2 separate regions of the Homo sapiens genome follow, and region 2 is linked to region 1. Evidence: promoter capture Hi-C in human tissues and cell types (Jung and others, 2019). All regions are on one chromosome and are shown on one strand. The core of a region is centred on a gene start or on the middle of the fragment in contact, and the rest is flanking DNA. Distances in the headings are between cores, read along the strand shown. Region 1 holds the start of SLC35A1 (solute carrier family 35 member A1). Region 2 has its middle 65 kb from the start of AKIRIN2.

Region 1 (2,777 bases), core at 75-2,574:
ATGAGATTAATCAAATGTCTGCCTCTACAAAGTCAACTCTGGTCTCCTGGGAGCCCCTCCCAATATTAATATGATGCTAATAAGGCATGCAAAATGTTCCAACAATGTTAACAGACCAGATATATCTATATGTATATTTAACAAGACAATGGTATACAACCAACCCTCTAAAAGGACAATTTTGGGGAAAGAACATGCTGCAGAAGGTGTGGGCTGCTGGGCAGCTCAGAATCTTGCATCCCTATTCCTGTAAGTGCTGAGGTATTTTCATATTATTTTAAACCAATCCACATATCTTGAACATCATTTATTTCACCAATGAATTATTTCTAATATCAATTATGATAGCTAATTAACATCCCCTAGTGAAAGTGGAGATTATAGTGGTTAAAATGCCTGTTGATATATCTAATTTTTTTTGTTTTTTGAGACGAAGTCTCGCTGTGTCGCCCAGGCTGGAGTGCAGGGGCGCAATCTCGGCTCACTGCAATCTCCCGGGTTCAAGTGATTCTCCCGCTTCGGCCTCCTGAGTAGCTGGGATTACCGGTGCGCGCCACCACGCCCGGCTAATTTTTTGTATTTTTAGTAAAGACGGGGTTTCGCCATATTGGCCAGGCTGGTCTCGAACTCCTGACCTTAGGTGATCCATCTGCCTCGACTTCCCAAAGTGCTGGGATTACAGGCGTGAGCCACCACGCCCGGCCGATACATCTGATTTTTTAAAGGCCGTTTTGTTGTGCGAAGATCATTAGTTAGAATGCCTGGCTGGGTAAATACAACCGATGACTGCTGACGATATGGAACAGGCACAAGACTTCTGAACGATATGTAGAATAAATTATAACTTATCTAGAACACAAGGTAACAGTGGAAGATAATGAGCCAGGTGGAAGTTACAAATGTTGCCGCAAGTAGTTTCTGTTACTTTACGAGTTCTGGGAGCTTCTCTAACAGCTTTGACAGGAGTGAATCCCCAAGGCTAAACCCAAATCCTTATTTGCCGCCTACTCACGCCTTTGTGAGGACTACGATTCCCAGACGGCAACGCTCCCTTCACTCAACTTCCTTAGCTGGCGGGGAGACGCAGTTTACAGAACTACCTCCCCAACCGAATTTCACACACCTGTCACCTAGGACGCGGCCGGGAAGGCCTCCCTTCGATCCGCGTTCTCCCCATTTTGGGGTGTAGCTTGGATTCCTGAGCCCAGTTTTAGTGCGTGGCCGACCGGGAGGCCGGCGAGGCGCTCTAGGCCGAGCGGCTTCGTCTCTATGACCACAAGGGGCGGTCCCCGGTGTCCTGCGCGGGGGCGCGGAGGGGGCGGGCGTCAGTTCCGCGGGGGGCTGTCGGGGAACCATGGCTGCCCCGAGAGGTGAGAACTGGGTCTGCTGGGAGTGGGGAGTCCGCGGGGGGCGGCGGCGGGCGAGCATCTGCGCTGGTCAGCCCCTGTCGGGCAGCGGAGCACCCTGGTTGCCCAGTGCCTCTGGGGCCTGGCTGAGGCGTCAGGAGTTTGCGTGGAGCCGCTCCCGGCAGTCAGGGCAGCCTGCCTTCCGCTGCGGCTGCAGTCTCCGCGGCTGACTCCGCGCTGGGCAGGTCGGAGTCAGAGACCGCACTGACCTCCACTAGCTGGGAGTGGGTGGGAACCGAATTCTGACAGGCCGGGGCTGCGGCGGACCCGGAGAGAGGCCAGGGCGTGGGTCCGGGGCTGGACCGCATTACCCAGCGAGGCAGGACAGTTCTTCACCCTGGCCCCGCGGCTCCGGTCTCCTCTGCGCCTCCTACCCTGTGGATGCTCAGAGGCTTAAAGGCAGGCTCCGGGCGCAGATCCCATGCGGCGGCTGGGCCATGCAACAACCACTAAAGACATCACTGGGGCGTCAAAACAGCACTGAAATCGTAACGAAAGGAAGATAACAGTCGTTAACAGTTCCCACCTGTATGCTGTGTGTAATTATAGAGAATGCTGTATGCTGCTATTTGGGGTGGAAGCTGAGATCCACCTCCCTCCTCCTGAGGGATGGCACATTCGGGTGAAGGCGTATTTGTTGACTAATTGACATTTAAGGAGGGCGAGTCTAATTGACTCCGCACCACTTTTTGCTGAGCAGTGTGTGTAAGTTGGGACCAGAGGTGGATTCTTTGACTGTGGTGCATTAACCAGGAGAAGTTGGGCAACACCCGGATTCTTGCTCCACCCTTCCTCCATAGAGCACTTGGCTTCACCCTTGAATAAATATTGAACGAATACATAAGGAATATCTTCTTGCGTGGGTTTCAAGTTATTTTCCCTGTTGCGGGGTCCATGTTTCTCATCAGGCCCTGCCCAGGGGCATTGTCTTTAGTTGCATATGCTTCTCTTATGTCTTCTTTCTGTTTCATTTCAAATAAGTCCAATCTTAAAAGCCTTTTTTTGTAGCAACACAGGAAATAAAAGAAAAAGAAATAGAATTGTTTTGATAACTAAAATGGAATGGGGATAGCAAAATTGATCCGAACGAAAACTTATAAATTACAGAAGTCAAATCATTACTTGAAATAGCTGCAACAATGTAAAGGTTTAGGCTTATTGCCAATACATATTTGTTGAGCCTTGATTGTAATCCTAACAAAACTACAGTTTCCATAGTTTCCGAATATCCACAAAGGATTTATCTGGGACTTACAGAATTTCTAAGTTCTTAAGTATTACAAATAATGTCCCCATAAACTATAGTAAAACATAACCGAAAAAAAACATTTTAAACTGTAAGTTTCTTTTGGGGGACATTTCCACACAAAC
Region 2 (3,008 bases), core at 193-2,692, 290 kb after region 1:
TTAGCTGGGCATGGTGGTGGGCGCCAGTTGTCCCAGCTACTCAGGAGGCTGAGGCAGGAGAATTGCTTGAACTTAGGAGGCAGAGGTTGCAGTGAGCTGAGATTTTGCCACTACACTCCAGCCTGGGCAACAGAATGAGACTCTGTCACAAAATAAATAAATAAATAAATAAATAAATAAATAAATAAATAATAATTCTAAGTTTTATCTTTATTCCAAAAGAAGCCATTAGAGAGCCATTAAATAGGGAAATGATATAAAGAATTTATGTTTTAGCCTGGGCTGCTGCACGGAGAGAGGATTGGAGAGGTGAACATAGGAAGATTGATTAAGAGGCTCCTAGAGAAGTCCCAGCAAGATAAGACCATGTCCAGAAGGACCAGTGGCAGTAAAGCTGGAAAAGTGACAGTTCATCTGGGTTATACAATATTTTCAAGGTAGAATACAAGACTTGACAATATACTCTAACCTCTGAAAGTGAAACAACTCTTCATAATTATGTGGAATGTAGAGCTACAACTGTACAATTTGTTTTGATGCCAAAGTTTCAACGAAAATGCTGAATTATTTTTAACATTTACAAAGAAAGAAAGCAAATTATATATTTTTTCTTGATGATCCCAGCAAGTTGGTGCATTAGATTATGAGCAGTGAAATCTGATGTTGTGTGCCTCACAATTTTGAAGCTCATGTTCTCTTGGTTGCAGTCATTAATCTCTTGTCTTCTCCAGTTATATTTGTTTATTTAAGACTGCAGGCTGGATTGATTTTACTAGATATGGGTCTCCTTGGTGAGAGGGTCATGAAGGGACAGTGAGGATGTTATGTGAGCTGAAATCATGACATACAAACAGCAAAGAGCAGAGGCTGGGCCCCATCAGGGTTGCTGGATGTTGTATGAATCCATTCGTGTTTTGAGACGAGCATCTCCTTAGAAAAATACTTTCTGGCAAAGTAGTTTACAGGTATTTATTTCCAGATTTGGATAATAAAAACATAATAATACAAATATATAGATGGTCTTAAACTTTATTTTTTTTAATTAAATTAAATTTTTTTTGAGATGGAGTTTCGCTCTTGTCACCCAGGCTGGAGTGCAATGGCACTATCTCGGCTCACTACAACCTCCGCCTCCCCGGTTCGAGCGATTCTCCTGCCCCAGACTCCCAAGTAGCTGGGACTATACGTGTGCACCACCACGCCCAGCTAATTTTTTTTTTTTTTTTTTTTTTTTTTTGCGAGACGGTGTCTCACTCTGTTGCCAGGCTGCAATACAGTGGTGCAATCTCGGCTCACTGCAACCTCCACCTCCCGGGTTCAAGTGATTCTCCTGCCTCAGCCTTCTGAGTAGCTGTGATTAAAGGCACCCACCACCACGCCCGGCTAATTTTTGTATTTTTAGTAGAGATGGGGTTTCACCATGTTGGCTAGGATGGTCTTGATCTCTTGACCTCCTGATCCTCCCACCTCGGCCTCCCAAAGTTCTGGGATTACAGGCGTGAGCCACTGTGCCTGGCCTAATTTTTGTATTTTTAGTAGAGACAGGGATTCATCAAATTGGCCAGGCTGGTCTCGAACTTCTAACCTCAAGTGATCTGCCCGCCTCTGCCTCCCAAAGTGCTGGTATTACAGGCATGAGCCACTGCGCCCAGCCAGACTTTAAAGAGTTTCAAAGAGAATATATAAAAGAGACTTATAAAGAATGCTAACTCATTAAATATGGACAGGGAAGTCTCATGGATGGAATCTGATGTTGAGGCTGTATGTGTTGAGCCTATATTTTTGAGACTAGGACAAAGCAACAAAAATGGAAATACCTTTTGTTCCCCCTTCCAGCCACTTTTCCCCACCCTAGCTAAAATCTAGGAAAACATTTCTAAAGGAGAAGCTGGAGGGCAATCCTATCTTATCATTCTCTTCCCAATGTCTTCCCCCTTCATTCAAAGGGTCTGTGTCTTCAAAAGTAAAACCTTCCGGAAGAGAAGTTCTATGGGAGTCTCTGATCTCAGGATGTGTGATATGTGACAACATTTCACACTTCCCTAATTCAGAGCGTTGGGATGGCAGCAGCGGGGAGCAAGAAGAATTCTAAAAGACTGTGAAAGATGGCCGGGCACGGTGGCTTATGCCTATAATCCCAGCACTTGGAGAGGCCAAGGCAGGCGGATCACGAGGTCGGGAGTTCGAGACCAGCCTGACCAACATGGTGAAACCCCGTCTGTATTAAAAATACAAAAATTAGCTGGGCGTGGTGGTGCGCGCCTGTAATCCCAGCTACTTGGGAGGCTGAGGCAGGAGAATTGCTTGAACGCAGGAGGTGGAGGTTGCAGTGAGCCAAGATCACACTACTGCACTCCACCCTGGGTGACAGAGTGAGACACCATCTCAAAAAGAAAAAGAAGACTGGGAAGAATAAATATCTTTGTCTTGTCCTCTTGAGACTGCAGTCAAAGATCTGGAAATAGGACACCAAGGCAAACATGTATGAGTGGAGAGCAGGGCCCCAAGGAATCTTTAATGTTGCTACAATACAGACAGGACCTGGGTTTGGATGTCTCCTTTCTGAAGGCTCCATGTAGAAATAAAGACAAGAGACCAAAGAAGGAGAAGGAGAGATGAAGCCAAGAAGTAAGCAGCAGCAATTCACAGCTGGGATGTAGTATCGATTTATCTCAGACTCAAAGGATCTGAATGGTTCTAACGACTTAACAAAGGGGGTAAACTAGCCTCTTACTGGATGTCTTTCCTATAGTGCTAACTAGAGTGAGAAATCAAGGTATATGTTGTAATTACCAGTAAATAATAGAGAACTTAGTCCAACCAAGCTTAGAATGTAATTCATTGTTAGTGAACCATTCAGGGGCTCTCTCTCTCTCTCTCTCTCTCTCTCTCTCTCTCTATATATATATATATATATATATATATATATTTTTTTTTTTTTTTTTTTTGAGATGGAGTCTTGCTCTGTCACCCAGGCTGGAGTGCAGTGGCACGATCTCAGCTCACTG

The links. The method cuts DNA at HindIII sites, captures the fragments that hold promoters and counts their contacts. A contact is called where the count stands out against the background at its distance.
Region 2: a fragment that was not itself captured here is called in contact with the fragment with the promoter of SLC35A1 in region 1 in 1 of the 25 tissues and cell types used here (H1 embryonic stem cells).

Annotation. Positions count from the first base shown.
Region 1 is chr6:87,471,650-87,474,426 of GRCh38, forward strand. It overlaps SLC35A1 (solute carrier family 35 member A1), which reads left to right and starts at 1,325. Exons shown (of 8, transcript NM_006416.5): 1 at 1,325-1,370. The coding sequence starts at 1,355. It overlaps LOC124901357 (a long non-coding RNA gene), which reads right to left and starts at 1,296. Exons shown (of 2, transcript XR_007059668.1): 1 at 1,124-1,296; 2 at 1-849. RefSeq lists enhancers at 972-1,878, 1,874-2,043, 2,094-2,193 and a silencer at 1,284-1,423. The HindIII fragment of the contact is 15,167 bases long and covers 1-2,777 here.
Region 2 is chr6:87,765,654-87,768,661 of GRCh38, forward strand. No RefSeq gene overlaps it. Among named protein-coding and RNA genes, the nearest start is that of AKIRIN2, 65 kb to the left of the region's middle. The HindIII fragment of the contact is 7,224 bases long and covers 1-3,008 here.